Linked DNA regions of Homo sapiens: all the other regions are linked to region 3. The links are contacts of gene promoters, found by promoter capture Hi-C in human tissues and cell types (Jung and others, 2019). All regions are on one chromosome and are shown on one strand. The core of a region is centred on a gene start or on the middle of the fragment in contact, and the rest is flanking DNA. Distances in the headings are between cores, read along the strand shown. Region 1 has its middle 20 kb from the start of ZFAND6. Region 2 overlaps CEMIP (cell migration inducing hyaluronidase 1). Region 3 holds the start of ARNT2 (aryl hydrocarbon receptor nuclear translocator 2). Region 4 holds the start of ZFAND6 (zinc finger AN1-type containing 6).

Region 1 (3,190 bases), core at 30-2,529, 370 kb before region 3:
CCAACCATTTTGTAAATAATGTTTTACAATAATGTATCTACAAAATAGCACCTATTTTGTAAATCACGTTTCAATAGAATACAGTCATGCTCATTTATTTATATCAGACCTCCCTCCCCCCAGTTACATTTTGGGTTGTGACAACTGAGGAGTGCTACTGGTATCAACTGGGTAGAGACTAGGATGCTGCTAAATATCCTACAGTTCACAGGACAGCCTTCATAACAAACAATGATCCAGCCTCAAATGTCAGCAGGCCAAGGTGGACAATACCTTGTGTATTGTTTATGGCTGCTTCTGAGCTAAAATGGGAGAGTCGAGTAGATGTGACAGAGATCACATGACCTGCAGAGCCTAAAACATGTTCTATTTGGATTTTGTACTAGTCAGGGTTTTCCATAGAAACAGAACCAATAGGATAGAGAGAAAGGAAGAAAAAAAGAGAGAGAGATTTAAGGAACTGGCTCATGTGATTATGGAGGCTGGCAAGTCCAAAGTCTGCAGGGTGGACTGGCAGGCTGAAGACCTGGGAAGAGCCAAGGTTGCAGTTTGAGTCTGAAGGCTGTCTGCTGCAGGATGCCTTCTTCCTCAGGGGAGGTCAGTCTTTGTACCATTCAGTCCTTTGACTGATTGGATGAGGCCTACCAACATTGTGGAGGGCAACCAACTTTACTCAAAATCCACTGATTTCAATGTTAATCTCATCCAAATGTACTCTCACAGAAACATCCAGAATAATGTCTGACCAAATATCTGGGTACTGTGGTCCAGCCAAATTGACACATAAAATTAACCATCAAAGCCAGGCGCCGTGGCTCACACCTGTAATCCCAGCACTTTGGGAGGCCAAGGTGGATGGACTGCGAGGTCAGGAGTTCAAGACCAGCCTGGCCAATATGGTGAAACCCTGTCTCTACTAAAAATACAAAAATTAGCTGGGCGTGATGGTGCGCGCCTGTAATCCCAGCTACTTGGGAGGCTGAGGCAGAAGAATCACTTGAATCCAGAAGGTGGAGGTTGCGGTGAGCTGAGATTGCATCACTGCACTCCAGCCGCGACAGAGCAAGACTCTGTCTCAAAAAAAAAAAAAAAAAAAATTAACCATCAAAGGCTTTTACAGAAAAAGTTTGTAGAACCCTCGGAGTCCCACCTCACCAGAGCTGAAGACTTGTTGGATTAACCTCATGAGAGGATTTTAGGTGGGCGTGACTTTGGATGTCAAGGAGAATGGAGAGTAAGCTGTGATCAGAACGCTGTGGTCATGCCTCCATGGCTCTAGCTGACTCCCCCAAGGGCAAAGTCCACCCTGACCCTCCCCTATGGACACAGTCCTTAGTTTACAATGTAATTTCACATTTTTTTTTTATTTGAAACGACCCTTTAAGGTAGAGTCCGGGGAGATGATACTGTTTCACTGATAAGCAAACTGAGGCCCAGAGAGGTGAGGTAATACCACACAGGGAGTTCGGGTGAGAATGGTGATCTCCTGGTTCCCAGTTTGGTGTTCTTGGGAATCACAATTCACTCTAGGGTGACCAACTGTTCTGTGTTGCTGTTGTTGTTGTTGTTGTTGTTTGAGATGGAGTCTTGCTTTGTCACCCAGGCTGTAGTGCAGTGGCACGATCTTGGCTCACTGAAACCTCCGCCTCCTGGGTTCAAGAGATTCTCCTGCCTCAGCTTCCCGAGTAGCTGGGACGACAGGCATTTACTACCACGCCCGGCTAATTTTTGTATTTTTAATAGAGACGGGGTTTCACCATGTTGGCCAGGCCAGTCTCGAACTCCCCACCTCCCGACCTCAGGTGATCCACCCACCTTGACCTCCCAAAGTACTGGGATTGCAGGGGTGAGCCACCGTGCCTGGTCCTGTTCTGGTTTTTATAGGCCCAAGAGATTTCCTGGAATGCAGGATTTTAGGTGCTAAAACTGGGGAAATCTGAGGCAAACTGGGACAAACTGATCACCCCACTTTGCCACCTCATGGATGTCTGACCTCAGTTACCCTAGCACTAAGTAGAATTAGCCAGCCAGGAGCTCAAGGCCCTGGGGAGACCCCTCAGTTAGGTGTGATGTGAGCAGACTGCCAGCACGGGCACCAACCGGTGTGTGTCCCTTTTCTCCAAACTCGAGAACAGAAATGTGATGGCAGCTTGAAGGGGGCTGGAAGGAGCTCTAGAACCCAGAGGTGAGACCTGCCTCAGCCTGCACCCCCTTTAGCAGCCAATGCCCCTGCTTGCCCCTAAGTTTCTCCATCTCTAAAATGATGATCTTTGGGTGCACCTAATAAATATTTACATTTTTACATTATACTTTCTTCTAGCACCGGAACTAATATTCATTCATTATCATAGACTTGGGGGGAATAAAAAGAGGAAAAAAAAAAGTTTTAACATCTAAATTTCCACTAATTCTAGTTTTTCCTAGATTTTTTTTCCATGTACAAAATTTATGCTTACTTTCACTCACTAGTGATTATACTATACAATTTTATTAGGTTTTTCCTTTTTTTATAACCTTTTCGTTTTTAAAAAAATTCTTACTAGATTATAAAATTGGTGAAAATATGAAAAACACATGAATAAAAAAGCCAATAGTAATCATCACCTATAATGCCACATATGTAAATATATATATACATATATAAATATATACACGTGTATATATAAATATAAACATCTATTTTCCTAGGCATATATGTGTTTACATTTATACGTGTATGTGTGTATATATTTAAATATGTATATATATTTACAAATAGGAGATAGTTATAGATATTTTAAAATACACATATATATACACAATACATGTGTTTATATAAACACATACTTTATGTATCTGTTTATAATTTATTTTTATTATAAAATTAATATATTTTCATTAGAAAAAATTCAAACACTCATAAATAAGCTTTCTCTTAGCCTCAAAACCATCCCTCAGAGATAATAACCCCTATTTTCAATTTGGTATCTATCTTTACAGGCATTTATTTCATTTGTAGGTATACATGTGTCTACATTTTTAACACAGATAGGATCTTAACATAGTACTGTTCTGTGACTTGCCTTTTCACTTAAAATATTATTGGCATATTCATAGAATGTTCTCTCCTGCTTTATTCACTTAACTTTCAAAGATAACTTCTAGACTTTTTATAAACTGAAGTATTTTACTGAATGGCTATAGTTGTTAA
Region 2 (3,175 bases), core at 361-2,860, 390 kb after region 3:
CAGATATTATGATTTTTTCATAATTCTTCATGAATTCTTGGACACATTTCTAACTGCCTTGTTGACTGACCTGCAGCAGAGGCGGCAGAGGGAAAGTGGGATAAAGGGACAGCATTTCAAGTGAGACTCCCCTTTGGGGAGGAGGGAGTAGTCACCACGAAGGATGCAGATTCAGCTCAAATTTCCTCAAAGCTTAACTGGATGAGATGGATACTCTGAATGCGGTCTGGTCTGCCGATGCCCCCTGGGTGACCTTCCGTAGTCCTCATCTCTTCTCTGCACTGTAGTTGTCATCAGACATTTGGGTGATTTTAGCAAAATAAACCCACCCACAAATATTCTTTTAGTGCCATCCCTGTATGTGGTCTTAAAGCAAATCTGAGTATGCCCACCAAGTAGCCAGAGGAGAGAAAGTCACAAAGGCTGGGTTCTTCCATTCAACAGAAACACATTAAATTCAGATCACCAATATCTCCAAGATGGTTCTAATCAGACAAAAAGAGAGAAATAATGAAGTATTCCAGGAAGGGCCCAGTTAGGTTTTGTTGACTGCAAAATAAACTGTTCTCCATATTCTTTCTCCACCAGTTTGCATGCTGTCTACTTTATATCTTCCTTGGGTTGTAGAATATTAGAGCTGGTGTAATAAACTGGGAAAGGGCATAAGCTTTGGAGCCCAGCAGTCCCAGTTATAAATCTACCTCCTGCACTGGTTAGCTGCTTGACTTTGGACAGGTTACTTCACCTTTCTGTGCCTCAGTTGCTTATCCATCCCCTAAAATAGGATGATTATATATTATTCTGTGTACTATGTGAACTAATACACGGCAACTTCTTAGAGTTATGATCTTGTACATACTAGGTATACAAAATAGCATGTCTCTTCCAATTGTCAATGTAGCTGATTGAATTAGCAGACACTGTATGTAGAGATGGCCATGCTGTGACTTTGGGGGAATTTACAAACTTTAAACCTTTGGCAAGCTATGGGCAGTAGCTGGTCCTAGAACAAGAATCTGAATGGCCAAGGCATGTGCTCTAGTGTTCCCTTGCAGAGATAGAGATTGTGTCTCCTCGGTGTGGTGTCTGTCAAGCTCAACACTCCATGAGATCAGGAACTAGTCCATCTCAGTCACCATTGTATCTCCAGAACTGAGACATTCAGGCATGAATGTTGTCCTGAGAGGAGAGCTACTTACTAGCATTTCCTGAGACCTACTACTTACAGTCACTTTATAAGTGCTTTACATATATTGGTAGGACACAGAATAGAGAAAGGTAGTCCAGGTCTTCTGACTTCTGATGAAAATACAGTTTAAGAAGTGTAAAAAGCAGACTTGCTAGTATCTCTGTGCCCTGGCTCAGAATATCACATTAAGAGGGTAAGCGTTGGAGCTGCAGGTTTTGAGATTGACATGGGTGGCAGCAGGTTGGTGCAATAGTGAAATTTGAAGGGCACAAACTCCTTGCCTAGCTTGGCTGTGTAACCTGTCCAATTATTTGCTTTCATTCAGGACGTCTTTCCCCCTTCTGCTCTCTGAAACTGGAAGATGTTGAGAGGCACATAATTAATTTGGGTGTGTTAGACCAACGCCCTCAAAGTTCCTTATTTACTTGTCATTATGCATAACTACACACATTATCAACACGAGGTTAAGTCTTCTGTGGTGGGTGTTTTTCTCTTACCCAAAGTGAAGGGGAGTGGTTACCATTGAATGGTGGAACTCTGGTTATCACAGCTGGGTTTCCCACAGGTAGGGTTACCCACAAGATCAGAATAATTTATCACTAATTACGGTTTTGGAAATGAAGCTTAGATGAGCCCTTCCTAAAGTGCATTTCTTGGGAGCATCGCTTCCTTGAGCTGTTACTAGATATTCTGAGGTCAAACAAGTTTGAGACAAACTGGGATAAACAAAGTTGACCTGTTTTCATTTTCCAAGATCTTCTCAATGGCTTTGTAAACCAGCATGCACCATGTCTCTCAGGGAGAGGTGCATAGTGTATAGTATCTCCCAGACGTGTTGGTCTAGGGAATTCCCTTTCTATTTTCACAGAGGACTTTCTGAGACTTGGGTGCTGTGGGACCTATGTTGGGGAAACACTGAGCTAAATATTCATTAGTGGGATAGGATGAAAAACAAACACCACATGAAACTGGGCATCCCCGCCAGAAATTCTTAATAGGTGCTCATTACAGTTTTATTAACACTAGGGTCATCTTTGAACTTAAGTAGAATGCTTTTGTCAAGTTGTTTTTGTTATTTATGATTTTATTTTTAGGTCAAAGTGTTGCCAAGTGGGTTCCTGGTTTTGGGGATTTGAAAAGTGGGACAACTTGAGGTCAAAGACCCTCCAGCAGTTTATCTTTGCCTTTCTGTTGTCTGTGATTTTTATCTGGTTTAACCACAGGTGACCTAGTAGTCCCATCTGGCCCCTAGAGAGGGTTGTAGCTTGTTCCAAATGGTCCCAAATCAGAAATTTCTCCCTCACACAAAATAACAGTGAGCTTACAAACTTGTAGTATCCATATTCATATGACTATTTTTTTAACCAGAAGTTTTTCCTTTGCTTGTCTGACTCATTCACTCATTTATTCCCTCATTTAGCAGTTTACTGAAGTCAGCTTATAATATTGCAGAGGCTGCTAGGCTCTGGGGATGCAGCAGTGACCAAAATGAGCTGAGACCTGCCTGCATGGAGATTACAGTCTAGAGCAGTGCTGTCCAGGAGACATACAATGGGTGCCACATTTGGAATTCTGAGTTTTCTAGTAGCCCCACTAAGACAAAGTTTAAAAAGAAACAGGTAAAATTAATTTTAATAATATACTTTATTTTCACCTCATACATCCAAACTATTGTCACTTCAACAGGTAGTCACTATAAAAAGTAATGAGATTGTTTACATTTTTTTATACTAAATCTTCAAAATTGGTATGTATTTTCTGCTTACAGCATATCTCAATTCGGACCTGCCATGTTTCCCGTGCTTAATAGCCACAGGCGGCTAGTGGAACAGTGTAGGTCTAGGGAGAGAGACAAATATAAAAAAATAGATATGAAAAAATCACGGGCGTATGTGATTCCAAACTGTGGCCAGTGATATGAAGAAAAGTTGAAAGGTTTGAGGAGAAAAAATAGGGGATCTGCTACAAGTGGCTGGTGGAAGTAGA
Region 3 (2,992 bases), core at 423-2,922:
GAAATCTTCAGTCCAGTATACGTTATACATTAATTAAGTTGGTATTTTGAGTGTGTTGCTTTTCGGGGTATGTAGAAGAGAGGCTGAATTCTCATTTGGCTTGATGTTGGAATCAGGAACAGTCAACTTTGATACGGGGCACAAGAGCGGGCCATAGCTGATACCCTGGTTTCTCTGTCTGGGCCTGGCCTATCTTGTGGCTGGGTGCACACCTGCTTTATTTTTTACTTGAAATGTCTTCTTTTTCCACCTGTCCTACTCATGTCTTCAAAGCCTAATTTTCATTTTCCCTGATCACTCCACCTCCTCTCTGCCCTCATTCATTCATTAGTGACTACAGGCTGGAGATGCCAATTTCAGGGCTTCTGCCCTAAGCCCCCAAGGGAGCTGTGTGCTTCTTGAGTGCAGATACTTTGTTTCACTCTTCCCCACTCTACCCCCCAAACCAGAAGAACAGAGCTCCTGTTTCTTCCTTTCCATGGTAGGCCCAACACCTGGCTTTGTGCCTGGCACACAGCAGACATTCAACATTTGTAGAACTGATAGACTATTAGATTAGTAGTGACAAATACTCCCCGAAGAAAATGCTTATTTGAACATACATCCCAAATTTTCTGCCCTCCAGAAAATGCTTCCTTGGAAGGATTTAAGACAGTTTGATGTCTCTGCAAACATTATCTGCGTTTAGGGACCAACTTGCCCTTCTCAGCGTTCACCTGGGATGTCTTTATTCTTCCATTTAACCTTTACAGGGGACCCCGATGGTGACGTGTCCTTCCTAGGGGCCATTACCTCTCTCAGGGATCCTAGTGTCTGGTAGAAAACAACAGCTCCAAGTTCTCTGCATCCAAACTTCGCCAGGATACGCAGATAAACCTATTTAAAAAAAAAAATCTTTTTAAATTCTCAACTTGGTGGTGTAAATAAGGCCCTTGCAGCGCCCTCAAGTAATAATCAACGGCAGTCATTATGGAAGGAGGGTAGAGATGAGCGCCTTACTCAAAGCCAAGACATTCACAATTTCTCGGGCCGGCTGCCTGTGCCTGGGCGTGTGCACTGTGCACTCCGAAGCTGTGTGCGGCGGTGGCCTTGGAGGTGCGCGTGGCCTTAGGAATTCCCGCGGTCGGGCACCCTCCGCTTAACACCGGGCCGTGTCCCCGGCCTGGGAGCCGAGCAGCGCGGCTCTGGCATGCTAAGTGGGCAGCACTGGGGCGCCTTTGTTCCTCGCGGCCGTCTCCCAGGACCGGCTTCCCTCTGAATCTAAATGGGCTTCTCCCTCACCCGCTCCGCCCTGGCCTCCTGGCCTGGGCACGGCGCCCCTGGGTAAAGCGCGCCCGGACACCTGGGGCGTGGGCGTGCGGGGGCAGCCCGGGCTAGGCGAGCGCGGGAGAGGCGCCTGCGGTCCCAGCCCGGCCAGGCCCGAGCACCTGCGCGAGCCCGAGGGAGCGCCCGGCCCTCTGCCCCCGCCAGTCGCCGGCGCCCAACTTGGGGGTCCCGCCGTCCGCAGCCCCAAGTCTCGCGGTGCTACCGCTCTGACCGGGGAGCCGCGGGCCGGGCGCCCCCCGCCGCGCGACAAAGGCTGAACCGGGAGGAGGAGGCCGAGGAGGGGGAGGAGGAGGAGAGAAAGGCGGGGACGGCGAGCGGCCGCGGCGGCGGGGAGAGCGGAGGGAGCGCCGCCCGCCCGCGCCGTCCTTTGTGTGGCGGCGGCGGCGCCTGGGCCTGACCGGGTCCCCGGGGCTGAGCGCCGGGCTCCGCGCCGCCCCTCCCGCGCCCCTGCCAAGCGGGCGCCTATCCTCTCCGAGCAAGATGGCAACCCCGGCGGCGGTCAACCCTCCGGGTGAGTAGCGGCCTGGGCCCCGCCGCCCGCCGCAGCCCGCAGGCCTTGCCCGGGGCCGGAGCGGACCAGGCGCGCCGGGCGCCCCCGGGGGCGCGGAGCCGCAGCTCGGCGCGGTGGGTGGTGGAGCGGCTGTCACTACGCGGCAGCCGCAGCATCAGCACCAGAGCGGCATCTGCATCCCAATCGCTGCCCATCCGGTCCCGGGCAGGCGCCGGTCCGGACCCGCGGGCGGCCGGACGCTGGCCTCGCATCCTCGGGAACCCGAAGGGCAGGCCCGGGAGCCCCCGAAGTTCTGAAAATAACCGCCTTTGCCTTCCCCATCCCACGCATTTTTCTCTTCCGGTCCCGGCTTTTGTGGCATCACGGCGTCAGCCAGTCCTGGCTGGTGGAGGGCTCCGCGCTGACGGAGGGAAAAGTTTGGAGCTGGGATTCAACAGGGTACAACTCCCGGGACTCTCCCCTGCCCGCCCCGCCCACTAAGCGCTGGTCCTTTGCGCCCTTTGCGACTGGCTGCTGTGTGTCCTAACCCTCCGGGGGCACAAAACACCCAGCCTGTGGTCACCAGCGTGGAGCAGCCCTGGTCCTGCCCAGGTGACATCCTCTGCTTTCTGGTCTGACCTGTCCCCAGGGTGCAGTCTGTGACAACTGAGCTCATTAGGAAATATTTCAAAAATGGAAGAGTTCTTGATCAAGTGGCAACATTGACTTGTTTTGGTATTGTAGTAGGGAAGTTCCGTTTTCACTGGGAAAGTTCCCTACCTGATGAGCAGGGTGTGGGAGAAGAGAAACGTGAACATCTAAGCTAGTACAAACTTTTGGGTGTTGTGCAGAGGCTGCTGTGGGCACGGCAGGTTGCTGGGTCCCTGTGGAAGATGCAGGGAGAGTCACAGAGGGCGGCCCCCAGGAAATTCCCAGCAGAGGGAGGTCATGTGTTGGAGATAGGGAGGGTCGGGGGAGGAACAGCAATGCCTAGCAAAGAAAAGTGTCTCTCATCATAGAATTAGGAATGAAAGATCCCTTTCATCTAAGGCGGCCAGGGAAGGCTTCTGGAGATTGGACATTTCGGCTGAACCTTGAAAACGGGAATGTTTGAATATACAGAGCCAGTAGCAGAGGGGCATTGCAGGCGTAAGTAACAGTGGACTTGCTCTAAGC
Region 4 (2,832 bases), core at 250-2,749, 340 kb before region 3:
ATAACAATCCTTTGTGGTAGGTTTTCGTTCCCATTTCACACAATTTTCTTAAGAGCACAAAGCTAGTAAGTGACAGTGGTCTGTCTGCATTCCACGTCACAATGCAATACTATAATCTCTCAATCTCCCAGAACGAATCTGGAACAAAGGAAAGCAGTAAAGGTCATGTAAACCCAATTTCTGCAAATTCATAATAACTGCATATGAAAATCCAACTGGGTTAGGTGCTGGAGTTAATACAACGATAAACTGGACAAGAATCGGAAGAAAAATACATTTAAGACAAAATCCGTAAGACTTGACGCATAACCTTGCTAGTTCAAGAAGCTCTTTCACACATATTATGTTATTTAACCCCCACAAATAGCCTAACAAGTAGGTTTTATTACCATTCCAATCAGGCTTTTGTCCTCCACTTAAACTGTACTCCCCAAGGTGACTTCTGTGTTGCTAAATGCTCAACAGGTACTCACTTCAGGCACAACATTTAAGGGAGCACCAAAAAACTAAGTGATCAAGATGAATAACATTTTTATTTTTTAAAATTAAAATTAATGCAAAAAAAAAATCCATGAATAACAAAATACCAACATTTAAAATAAAGAGGATTCTCAGGACTGGGCTCGCCTACCTGGATGCCCTAACGGAACTCCTCATTCACAATAGGATTGAATGACCTCGAACTAAAGTGTCACGTACTTCCTGCTCGTGATGCTCGTGAGCCCGAACGAAGGCTGAAAAACTTCAGGGGGAGCCATTCTGCCTATCACCCCTAGTTCCAGCGCAGCAGCCCAGCGTGCACCACGCAGGTGGGAACTGACCCCGTGCTTTTGGAACAGGCTGGAACTGGGGGTGCTTGTGCCTGTGCATGTATGTATTGCACACGTGTGCATGCACGCTTCTCGTCTTGCTTCTATTTCCAAGTCCCAGTTCAGGACAGGGCAGAGAACTGCTTTCCAGTATGCGCCCTGAGCTCGGACTTTGCGCTTGCAGACTGAGGCGCCGGCCTGCATGGGAAGACAGAAGCTCAGAATTCCTTCCTGCACAAGTGGCAGGTGGAGTGCAACTCTTTTTGGTGCCTCAGTCCAAGACAGGGACACGCCATTCCCTGCGAGGTGGCAAAGGTACCTGAACCTACATAACCAAGCCCTTAAAGTCTCCGCGGCACCTCTTAATCGCCTTCCCGTAGCTATTGGAGGTAGAGAAACCGCGGCGGGAAGCGCCCCAGAGAGGGCAGTGGAGCAAGGGACACTGGAGGTGCAGAAGGCGGAGGAGCATCTCCTTTCGCTCCGCCCCGCCTCTTTTCCTGCCTCCGGCCAATTGCCGTGCGCTCCGAGCCTTGACCCCGCCTCTCCCCGCCTCCTCCGGCCTGCGGCCCCGCCCGCGCCGGTAATAATTAGCGGGCGGGCGGGGCCCGCGCGTCAGCCGCGGGAGCCGGCCAATCCAGTGGCTCTCCTCCGCGGTCGCGTCATAGGCCGAACAACCAAACAGAAAAGTTTAATAAACAGCGGACGGAGGGGCCGGCGGTGGCGGAGCCGGAGCAAGCAGGGGTTCGGCGGCATTACCTGTACCCATTCACCGGCGGCTACCGGCGGCGGCGCGCAGCGTGTCAGGCGGAGAGACCCGCCGCCAGGTGAGGAGCGCGGCCCGCGGGGCCCGGCTTGCCCGGCGCTGCCCCTCCCCCGCCTGCTCCCTTCCCCCACCCGGCTGCAGCTAGGCGAGGCCCGCCCCCGGCCCCTCCCGGCGCCCGAGAGCCGGAAGCGGAGGGCGGCCGGCCGGCGCAGCAGGTGGTGGGCCCGCGGGGGCCGCGGGCGAGAGGGCGAGGACTCCCGGCTCCGGGGGTGGGGGCCGGAGATCGGCGGGTTCACCTCAGACGGCGCGCGGGCGCCCGCGGCCGGGGGCCGCTTCCTGTCAGGGTGGTCGCGCTGGGGTCGGGAGCCTCAGTTCTTCAGGGCCGCGGAGGCCGCGACGCGCGCCGCCCCGAGCGGGTTGCGAGCGGTTGGCTGGCGGGGGTCGGAAGGGCCCCGGGCACACTGGGGCGCGTCAGTTCCCCGCCTCCTCCGAGTCTCAGGTCCTCTTCGGGATGTTTTTCCACCTGCGGCGTTTTTCAGAAACCAGCCGGAGGCAGCCCGGTGTCTCCAACTCCTGACTGGCACCGGGAAGGGAATTGGTCTCTTTTTTTCCTGCTTGGGTTTAGCTTGCTTAGGATTCTAAATTTTTTGTCTGCTTTTTTGAAATAGTTATATTTAAGTTTTAGCTACCTAAAAAAGTATGAAAGAATATTGTGTTTGAAATCTTTTTAACTTGGTTTTTAAGTCACGTGCTAACTATCCTACACAGTTGGGACGCTATGATTTACCTTCACATCTCGGAAGTTGTAACCAGTTGTGAGGAAGTTAGGACCTTGGGGTTACCTAAAGATAATTTATATTAAGTTGTTGGGCCATAAAAACTGGGCAGAATTGGCCACGCGCGGTGACTCAACGCCTGTAATCCCAGCACTTTGGGAGGCCGACGCGGACTAATCACGAGGTCAGGAGATCGAGACCATCCTGGCCAACATGGTGAAACCCTGTCTTTACTAAAAATACAAAAATTAGCTGGGTGTGGTGGCGGGCGCCGGTAGTCCCAGCTACTGGGAGGCTGAGGCAGGAGCATCGCTTGAACCCGGGAGGCGGAGGTTGCAGTGAACCAAGATCGCGCTACTGCACTCCAGCCTGGCGACAGAGGGAGACTCCGTCTCAAAAAAAAGCCGGGCAGAATTAATGATTTTGAAGCTCCGAGAAACAGGATTAAATTCCTCTTTCAAACCGAAATCGGAATTTGATTTTT

Evidence for each region. The method cuts DNA at HindIII sites, captures the fragments that hold promoters and counts their contacts. A contact is called where the count stands out against the background at its distance.
Region 1: a fragment that was not itself captured here is called in contact with the fragment with the promoter of ARNT2 in region 3 in 2 of the 25 tissues and cell types used here (bladder and dorsolateral prefrontal cortex).
Region 2: a fragment that was not itself captured here is called in contact with the fragment with the promoter of ARNT2 in region 3 in 3 of the 25 tissues and cell types used here (IMR-90 fibroblasts, aorta and mesendoderm cells).
Region 4: a contact is called between the fragment with the promoter of ZFAND6 here and the fragment with the promoter of ARNT2 in region 3, in 1 of the 25 tissues and cell types used here (hippocampus).

Annotation. Positions count from the first base shown.
Region 1 is chr15:80,037,745-80,040,934 of GRCh38, forward strand. No RefSeq gene overlaps it. Among named protein-coding and RNA genes, the nearest start is that of ZFAND6, 20 kb to the right of the region's middle. RefSeq lists an enhancer at 1,965-2,464. The HindIII fragment of the contact is 5,767 bases long and covers 1-3,190 here.
Region 2 is chr15:80,791,732-80,794,906 of GRCh38, forward strand. All of the region lies in intron 1 of CEMIP (cell migration inducing hyaluronidase 1), which reads left to right. Among named protein-coding and RNA genes, the nearest start is that of CEMIP, 14 kb to the left of the region's middle. The HindIII fragment of the contact is 5,902 bases long and covers 1-3,175 here.
Region 3 is chr15:80,402,710-80,405,701 of GRCh38, forward strand. ARNT2 (aryl hydrocarbon receptor nuclear translocator 2) reads left to right here and starts at 1,673. Exons shown (of 19, transcript NM_014862.4): 1 at 1,673-1,837. The coding sequence starts at 1,807. ARNT2-DT (ARNT2 divergent transcript) reads right to left here and starts at 1,487. Exons shown (of 6, transcript NR_184070.1): 1 at 1,282-1,487; 2 at 793-876. RefSeq lists an enhancer at 1,104-1,604. The HindIII fragment of the contact is 10,967 bases long and covers 1-2,992 here.
Region 4 is chr15:80,058,177-80,061,008 of GRCh38, forward strand. It overlaps ZFAND6 (zinc finger AN1-type containing 6), which reads left to right and starts at 1,500. Exons shown (of 7, transcript NM_019006.4): 1 at 1,500-1,633. RefSeq lists silencers at 1,178-1,506, 1,203-2,072. The HindIII fragment of the contact is 12,222 bases long and covers 1-2,832 here.